2 separate regions of the Homo sapiens genome follow, and region 1 is linked to region 2. The links are contacts of gene promoters, found by promoter capture Hi-C in blood cells and fetal thymus (Javierre and others, 2016). All regions are on one chromosome and are shown on one strand. Each heading gives the region's core, a stretch centred on a gene start or on the middle of the fragment in contact. The rest is flanking DNA. Distances are from core to core; before and after follow the strand shown.

Region 1 (4,846 bases), core at 590-3,089, 350 kb before region 2:
CAGGGGGCAGCGTGAGGAAGGCGGCCTTCCTTACCCCATTGGAATGGGTCACAGGGCACCCCAGAGATTGTGCAGGACCTACCAACTTCCTTCCCTGTGCAGGAGGGAAACTGAGGCCGAGTGCCACAGCTGGCTTCCCCAAGGTCACTCGGAGCTGGTGGCAAAGTGGAGGTTATGATCCCGGACTCTCCAAACTTTGCACAGTGTGGTTCTTAAGTGTTCGGGAATGGGGCTGAGGGAACAGCTCCGGGGCTGGCGTCCCACCTGGTGGGGCACGTAACCTCACAGAGTGACCTTCCTGGGCTGGCCTGTCCTGCCTCCACCCCACCCCAAGCCCGCACTCTGATGCCTTCCTGGGCACGTGGTCTGGCGCCCTTTTCCCCTTCTCGCTGGCCTCTGGCCACTTGTGAGCAGTTTGCTCATGCCAGGAACAGAGGTTAGAGGAGCAGGGCAGAGGTGGGGTCTTGTCCCTGTGACAACTGATGACACCCTTCAAGAATCACACCACTTCCTCTTGCTCCTGGAGGGGGCATGAGTCTGGGGCCTGGGGAGAGAGAGAACCCAAGCTGCCGCTACTGAGCCCCAAATAGCCCTGCCGGGCACCCAGCTGCCCCTGCCTTTCAGGGCCTGCCTCCTGGGATCCTGTGACTCTTCCCGGCTGGATCCCCTTTCAAAAGTGCAGGGAAGTGGCTAATTGGCTGGGCCTCCGTGGTGGAGTAGGTGTGGCCTCTGGGCTGGGCAGGCAGGATGGGGGGGTCCTGCGGTGTTAGGGGTGAAGAGAAGATGGCTTTCTCGGGACCAGAGGTGGAAATCAAAATGATTTACTCCTGACATGAATTGTGTGGCCTGCGCCAGGATCTAAAAGTGACGGCAGAAAGCACCGACTTTAGCCCGTGAGCAGATGGAGAACTTGTCAGGCACTTGGCCCTTGCCCCAGAACAGCAGGAGGAGTTTGGGGCTGGCAGAGACCCCTGGAGGGGGAGCCACTGTCCCCACAGAGACCCCTGCTCCCCTGAGCACTCTCTCAGAGGACAACAACCCAGGAGGGTGGGAAAGAGCTACGGAGACAAGGTGCCCAGGCACCTGCTCGAGGGCTGCCGCTGTTTTTAGGATCCAGCCCCCACAGCCCCACTCCTTGGTGCCAGGAAAGCAACCGGACCTTGTGATGGGGCTGGGGTTCCTGGGCTGCTGTGTTGTCACTGGGGTCTCCCTTTTGCTTCGAGGTGGGATTTCCAATCATGCAGCAAACTTTTATTGAACGCCCCCTAGGTGGTCAGGCTGGGGACTCAGACATGTGTCAGATAGGCAAGGGCCCTGCCCTCATGGAGCTTGTAATCTGGTGTGAGGATTACAAAGCATCTATTGTAAAGAATGTGTTCTAGCAGCTGAGACAAGGCCCGGTAACCTCAGTGCTGTGAAGACACCATAGCAGATGGGGCCACCTGAGCTGGGGAGATCAGAGGAGGCGTCTCAGGGGTGGTGGCCTGAGAAGAGGCATCCAGCTGGGTAATGATATTCCAGACCCGTTATTGAGTGACAGTGGGCCAGGCCCAAGGAGTGGGGCTGGTCTGGGGCTCTGCCTGCTACTGAAGCCACAGTTAGAGGGACGCTTTCGGGGGTGAGATGTGGAGATCCCCCAATAGTTATCTATTTCTGTGTAACAAAACACCCCGAACCTTAGTGGCGTAAAACAGCAAACCTGCATTCTCTCCATCTCTTGAGGGTCAGGAAACTGAGAGAAGCTTAGCTGGGTGGTTCTAGCTCAGGGTCTCCCTCCCTCTGAGGCCGGGTGGGACTTGGTTAGGGCTGGAGGATGGGCTTCCTAAACAGCTCCCTCCCATAAAATGGCATTTGGTGAGAGGCCTCGGTTGGTCACTTTGGGGCCTCTCCATGGGGCTGCTTGAGTGCCTCACATGGGATAGATGTCCTAAGCTTTTCCCCCAGAGCATATGCTCCACGAGAGGGATCGTGAGGAGACCCCGATGGAGCTGCAGTGCCTTCTTTGTGACCTCGTCTTCGAAGTCTCTCCTGCTTTATTCTAGGGGTCAGAATCGAGTCAGGGAGTCTGGCCATACTCCAGGAGAGGGAAATTAGGCTCTACCTCTTGAAAGAAAGAATCTCAAAGAATTTGAAGGTGTGTTTTTATTTTCTTAAAAAAATTTTTTTTTGAGACAGTTTCACTCTTTTTGTCCAGGCTGGAGTGCAGTGGTGTGATGTCACTGCAACCTCTGCTTCCCGGGTTCAAGTGATTCTCCTGCCTCAGCCTCCTGAGTAGCTGGGATTACAGGCACCCACCACTATACCCGGCTAATTTTTGTTTGTTTGTTTGTTTGTTTGTTTGTTTTTTAGATGAAGACTTATTCTGTTGCCCAGGCTGGAGTGCAGTGGTGTGATCTCAGCTCACTGCAACCTCCGCCTCCGGGGTTCAAGTGATTTTCCTGCCTCAGCCTCCCCAGTAGCTGGGATTACAGACGCGTGCCATCACGCCCGGCTAATTTTTTTGTGTTTTTGGTGGAGATAGGATTTCATCGTGTTAGTCAGGATGGTCTTGATCTCCGGACCTCGTGATCTGCCCGTCTCGGCCTCCCGGAGTGCTGGGGTTACAGGCGTGAGTCACTGGGCCTGGCCAATTTTCTTAAATTTTTTTTTTTTGAGATGGAGTCTTGCTCTGTCACCCAGGCTGGAGTGCAGTGGCGCGACCTTGGTTCATTGCAAGCTCCTCCTCCTGGGTTCATGCCATTCTCCTGCCTCAGCCTCCCGAATAGCTGGGATTACAGGTGCCCGTCACCATGCCCAGATAATTTTTTGTATTCTTTAGTAGAGACAGGGTTTCACTGTGTTAGCCAGGATGGTCTCAATCTCCTGACCTCGTGATCTGCCCGCCTCAGCCTCCCAAAGTGCTGGGATTACAGTCGTGAGCCACTGTGGCCGGCCAAAATTTTTAAAATTAATTTAAATTTTTTTCGAGACAGGGTCTCGCTCAGTTGCTCAGGCTGAAGTGCAGTGGTGTAATCATAGCTAGCTGCACCCTTAAACTGCTGGGCTCAGCGATCCTCCTGCCTCAGCCACCTGAGTAGTTGGAAGTACAGGCGCGCATCACCATGTGCAACTAATTTTTTTTTTTCTTTTGAGACAAGGTCTGTTGCCCACGCTGGAGTGCAGTTGTGAGATCTCAGCTCACTGCTTCCTCAACCTCCTGGGCTCAAGCGATCCTCCCACCTCAGTCTCCCAAGTAGCTGGAACTACAGGCATACGCCACCACGCCTAGCTAATTTTTTGTATTTTTTTGTAGAGACAGAATTTTGACATGTTGCCCAGGCTGTTCTCAAACTCCTAAGCTCAAGCGATCTACCCACCTCGGCCTCCCAAAGTGCTGAGGTTACAGGTGTGAGCCATGGGCTGCTAATGTTTTAAAACCTTTATTGTAGAGACTGGGTTTCACCATGTTGCCCAGGCTGGTCTCAAACTCCTAAGCTCAAGCGATCTACCCACCTCGGCCTCCCAAAGTGCTGAGGTTACAGGTGTGAGCCATGGGCTGCTAATGTTTTAAAACCTTTATTGTAGAGACTGGGTTTCACCATGTTGCCCAGGCTGGTCTCAAACTCCTAAGCTCAAGCGATCTACCCACCTCGGCCTCCCAAAGTGCTGAGGTTACAGGTGTGAGCCATGGGCTGCTAATGTTTTAAAACCTTTATTGTAGAGACTGGGTTTCACCATGTTACCCAGGCTGGTCTCAAACTCCTGGCCTCAAGCAATCCGCCCACCGCAGCCTCCCAAAATGCTGGCATGACAGGTGTGAGCCACTGTGCCTGGCCAAGTGTATTTTTTAAGCCATCACATTATGGGAGATCTGGGGGGCTGCCCCAGCTGGACTCTGCCTTTGATTAGGGTCTGAGCCGTGGCCCTTGAAGACTGCTACACTTTTCATCGTTACATTCAAATCACACTTTCAGCCAAGTTACATTTGACAGTCAAGTGCTGCAAGTGTAGAGATCTTCAGTGCACAGTGTATGCAACTGTGCAGTCACTACTTGGGTCAAAAGGTAGAGCATTGCCATCACGCCAGAAGTCGCCTCTTTTCACTTGGTACTGTCTGGAGCTAATCACTCTTGTGATATCTGTTCATTTTGTCTCTTCTTGAAGTCTGGCCCCTTTTACTCAATATCCGGCCAGTTCGTCCTTGTTATTGGATGTGGCAATGGTTCCCTCTTTTTCATTGCTGTATAGTGTTCCAGCATATGAACGTACCACAGCTTGTTTCCCACTCTTTTGTTGTTTTGTTTGGTTTTGTTTTTTGAGATGGAGTCTTGCTCTGTCGCCCAGGCTGGAGTGTAGTGGCACGATCCTGGCTAACTGCAACCTCCGTTTCTTGGGTTCAAGCGATTCTCCTGCCTCAGCCTCCAGAGTTGCTGGGATTACAGGCACCCGCCACCACGCCTGGCTAATTTTTGTATTTTAGTAGAGACGGAGTTTCACCATGTTGGCCAGGCTGGTCTCAAAATACTGACCTCAGGTGGTCTACCTGTCTCGGCCTCCCAAAGTGCTGGGATTACAAGTGTGAGCCACCATCCCGGCCCCCACTCTTTTGTTGATAGGCATTTGGGTTTCTTGTGAATAAAACTGTGCTGAACATTTTTTTTTTTTTTTTTTTTAGATATGGTCTCATTCTGTTGCCCAGGCTGGAGTGCAGTGGTGCAATCACAGCTCACTGCAGCCTCCAACTTCTGGGCTCAAACCATCCTCCCACCTCAGCCTCCTGAGTAGCTGGGACTATAGGCATGTGCCACCATGCCTGGCTAATGTTTTTAAAAATGTCTTGCAGAGACAGGGTCTCATTATGTTGCCC
Region 2 (4,384 bases), core at 270-2,769:
CAGCCTAAAGTAGACGTCCAGTGAATATTGGTTGAATGAATTCACCTGTCTATTCCTGCCCTAACAGTGGGGATAAGGCCACCCTTGCAGGGTTGAGAGGATTAACTGAGACAGCCTCTGACAATGCCCAATGAACACTCAACAAATATTAGCAGAAGTAGGAAAACAACCTATCTTTTGGACTAAATGCTCCGAGAAGGGAGGTGACCTTTATTTCCCTCATGAATTTTATAACCCTTCCAGTTCCAAAAAGGATGACAGGCAGTGCAGGCAGACATCATTCTGTTCGGCTGAAGTTCAATGAATGGCATTGCTGCTCTCAACCTCTTTTGGGTACTATCCCGCCTAAGAAAAGCGGGGTGGGAGAATGGAAATATATTTGCATTTTCATGCATATTAAGTCTCCCACAAAGATGGCTCTTTGTTTTCTTACGGTTTGCAAGCTCCTGAGGACTAGAAATCGGTGAAGGGGGAGGGGAGAGCGAGTGTTCTGAGATTGTTCCTCCCATCCCCTCCCAAAGCTAATCTCGTTCTAGCACTGCACTGCTTTTCCAAACTAGCTGTTGTATGCAGTCCCATTCATCCCTTCTCTCCAGAACTTGACACCTGTGGCTCCTGCAAGTGGAAGGCCCGGGAATGGGAATGAAGCGGGGTGGTGGGCAGGGAAGCGTTATGCTCGGAGAGCCCTTAAAATTCTCCTGGAGGTCGGCAGCGGCGCCCGCCTGTAGCCTCCGGCCTAGAGGCTTCGCCGCCCCTCGGACTAGAACACAGCCCGGCCGTTGTGCTTGCCTCCCCTTCCCAGGCTGTGAGACGGCGGCCGCAACCACCCAGCGCCTCTGGGGATCCGGCCTCTGGTGCTGGGCCCGGGAGAGGGGGCGCTTGGGCACCGGAAGATCCGGAGCGTGCGGGGCGTGGATCGAAGTCTCCAGACCCTGGGCGGGGGAAAGGGGAAGGGAGGGGGAAATCGAGGAGGCCTGAGCTTCTAAACCATGGTGGGGGAGGTGCAAGAGCGCGCCCTGGACCCAGATCCGAGAGGGAAACCTGGGCCCCAAGGCTGAAGGGGGTGAGAAGGTGCCCGGGTCCCGGACCCCGACTGGGGAGGGACGGCCCCAGCCCCGGCCCCGCACCGTGACGCGGAAGTGGAATCCCCTCCATCCTCACCTCTGAGCATCGGCTCGGGCCGCGGAATTACGGCCACCACCATGGCCTCCTCCTCGTCCTCCCCTTCCTCGCATTTCAGCGTCACCTCGAAGCAGTCGAGTGCGGCGCCCTCGGCCTTTAGGGCCATGGTGCGGCCGTGGGCGATAGCAGTGGCCGGAGGACTGGCGCGCAGGCTTCGGCGCGCAGCCGGCAACCGCCTCCCGCCTCCTGGCCGGAATAGCGCCGGGCCCGCCGCCCGCCCCGCGCAGCCCCCTCCCCGCCGCCCGCCCGCCGCTCGCCGGCCGGGCCTGCGACCGGCGCGTCCGGGCCTCCCCGAGACCTCGGCGCGTCGGGAGCCCGGGCGGGGAGGGCTCAATCCGGGGCCCCTGCCCCCCGCCGCTCCCTTTTATGGAGGCTCATTGTCGGCGCCCGCCCGGCCGGCCAGCCGCGGACCCGCCCCCGATGCCGCGCGGCCAATCGCGCGTGGCCCCGCCCCGGGCACGCGGCCCCGTTAGAAACCCTGGACCCGGGAGGCGGCGGGAAGGGCCGAGGGGACCCGGGGCCACCCGGTGCGCAGAGGCAGAGGGGCCCCCAAAACCCGCAACGCGGGCCCCTCAGTCTGCGGGCCAAGCCCGGGGTTTCCCTCCATTAAGAAGTCAGTTGGGCGTTTCTGCTGGCGTGGAGAGCGCTACCAGGTGCCCCCGGATTTTGATCGGGAGTCGCTTTTGCCTTTCCGTGGACAAGCCTTCCTCCGCCAGCAGATGCCCCGGGCAGGAAGAGAAGCGGTGGGTGAGTGGAAAGGGCCTTGGTATGGAAACGCAGAGACCGAATTCCTTCTCATCTGCCAGCTCCGTGGCCGTGGGCACATTATCTGTTTTCTTAGTCCGGCTCATCGTTTCTTTCAAAAACCATTTTGGACCCTTCTGGGAAGGCAAAGAAGAGAAGCAGAGTGGACTGTGAGCGGACATAAACCACCCTGATGGGTATGATTTCCATTTTTGGCACGGGAGTCCGGAGATTTTGTGACCCTCTCCAAGGACACACAGCAATCCCTTGAGAGCCCCAAGACCAGAGTCCAGTTGCCATGACATTGCTGCCCTATAACCACACTCTGGGTGAGCTTTTACTTCTGTGACATGGAATGTGCATCTCCCTCTTCTATAGCAACCCTCATGAGATTTCAGCTCAGAAAATGCAAAATGTCTGACACTGAAAATCCATCTTCGAATGTCGTTATATCAGACCAGACACAGTAGTATTCAGAATCGCGTAGTAGGATGGGGGTGTGAGAAGAGGTGTGAACTAGTCTATATGGATTGCAGTCAATTTTTTAATTTTTTTTTTTTTGAGACAGAGTCTCGCTCTGTCACCAGGCTGGAGTGCAGTGGCGCTATCTCGGCTCACCACAACCTCCGCCTCCCAGGTTCAAGCTATTCTCCCGCCTCAGCCTCCTGGGTAGCTGGGACTACAGGCACGTGCCACCATGCCCGGCTAATTTTTGTATTTTTAGTAGAGACGGGGTTTCAGCATGTTGGCCAGGATGGTCTTGATCTCTTGACCTCATCATCCGTCTGCCTCGGCCTCCCAAAGTGGGATTACAGGCGTGAGCCACCGCGCCTGGCCTTGCAGTCTATTTTTAAGGGAATTATTTTGTTATGTGCAAGTGTATCTGATATTTTAAAGGTTTTACAACAAAGGTATTACCAAGCCTGTTTAACTATTTCTGCTGAATGGTCATTCTCTACCATTTGCTACAGATCCCTTCCGTGCCCCTCTGCTCTGCTCTGTATTGCAGTGGGCTGAGTCTTGCGGGGGGCAGTTTCTCAGGCTCCCAGAGCATCTGGCTTCAGGCCTCGGTTTAGCCAATGGGAGGCAGTGGCAGGAGAAGAGAAGGCAGGAGGAAAGAAAGAGCCATGGTATTTCTTCTCTTTCTCTCTCTTGCTCAGGCTCAGGTGACATCTCCAGCAGCAGATGAGGCCTCTCTGTGGCTCCAGCTCATGGATAGGTAGCTGTGGTCCCAACATCTGTAGGATGATCCATGCCCCTGGGCTCTACTCAGTCCACCTCCTCTTTTTGTCCCTGCAGGTTAGGAGTTGTAGGCAGCTTCTTGCTTTTGCCAGTCTCTGTACTGCCTCTCTCTGTCCCCTGCTGGGCTTTCCAGACCTCCCTGTTAACCCCTGTTAATCGTGTCACCAAAACCCTGCATTACATTCTCTCTGTTTTCAATACTTAAAGTGGTTCCCTCCTGGCGGGGCGCAGTGGCTCCCAACTGTAATCCCAGCAGTTTGGGAGGCCAAGGCAGGTGGATCACTTGAGGTCAGGAGTTCGAGACCAGCCTGGCCAACATGGTGAAACCCTGTCTCTACCATAAGAAAAAAGAAAAAAGAAATTAGCCCGGCATGGTGGTGTGTGCCTGTAATCCCAGCTACTTACGAGGTTGAGTCAGGAAGATTGCTTGAGCCCAGGAGGCGGAGGTTGCAGTGAGCCAAGATCATGCCGCTGCACTTGACTCCAGCCTGGGCGACAGAGCTAGATTGTCTCAAAAAAAAAGTGGTTCCTATTTTCCTGGTTGAACCTTGAGTGATACACCCAGTATTGTACCACCCAATTAGTAGACATTATTTCTTTTAGGTCATATTATTCTCAGCTTATAGAGCAAGAAGTTGAAGCTTAAAGGGTTAGATTACTTGCCCAAGGTAATACAGCAAGAATCTTATTTCATCCAACCTAGAGTGAATATTTCCCCCACATTTTAATATCCCTCAAATGGTGATGCTTTCTATAATCAACATCAACGTGAAGTTTAGGACTGAAGTTTAGGACTATCAAGAAAGTGAAAGATGGCTTTTCTGGCATTCAGACTGTGCTGTTACCAGCAGAAAGTAAGCTATGTTTAGAATGAGACATAGATGAAGCCACTTCATGACCACAAAGTGACTTCGCCTTTTTTTTTTTTTTTTTTTTTGAAATGGAGTCTCACTCTGTCACCCAACCTGGAGCGCAGTGGTGCAATCTCGGCTCACTGCAACCTCCGCCTCCCGGGCTCAAGCAATTCTCTGCCTCAGCCTCCCAAGCAGCTGGGATTACAGGCGCCTGCCACCACACTTGGCTAATTTTTGTATTTTTAGTAGAGTCAGGGTTTCACCATCTTGTCCAGGCTGGTCTTGAACTCTGACCTTGTGATCCTCCTGCCTCGGCCTCTCAAAGTGCTGGGATTACAGGCGCGAGCTACTGCTTCCGGCCT

The links. The method cuts DNA at HindIII sites, captures the fragments that hold promoters and counts their contacts. A CHiCAGO score of 5 or more calls a contact.
Region 1: a fragment that was not itself captured here is called in contact with the fragment with the promoter of SPINDOC in region 2 in 11 of 17 cell types (total B cells, naive B cells, naive CD4 T cells and 8 more); the score reaches 8.6 in total B cells.

What each region holds. Positions count from the first base shown.
Region 1 is chr11:64,160,621-64,165,466 of GRCh38, reverse strand. The region is part of intron 1 of MACROD1 (mono-ADP ribosylhydrolase 1); the gene reads left to right. Among named protein-coding and RNA genes, the nearest start is that of MACROD1, 3.1 kb to the left of the region's middle. The HindIII fragment of the contact is 190 bases long and covers 1,745-1,934 here.
Region 2 is chr11:63,810,591-63,814,974 of GRCh38, reverse strand. SPINDOC (spindlin interactor and repressor of chromatin binding) reads right to left here and starts at 1,519. Exons shown (of 6, transcript NM_138471.3): 1 at 1,162-1,519. The coding sequence starts at 1,288. RefSeq lists silencers at 1,414-1,883, 3,144-3,438. The HindIII fragment of the contact is 4,146 bases long and covers 1-3,811 here.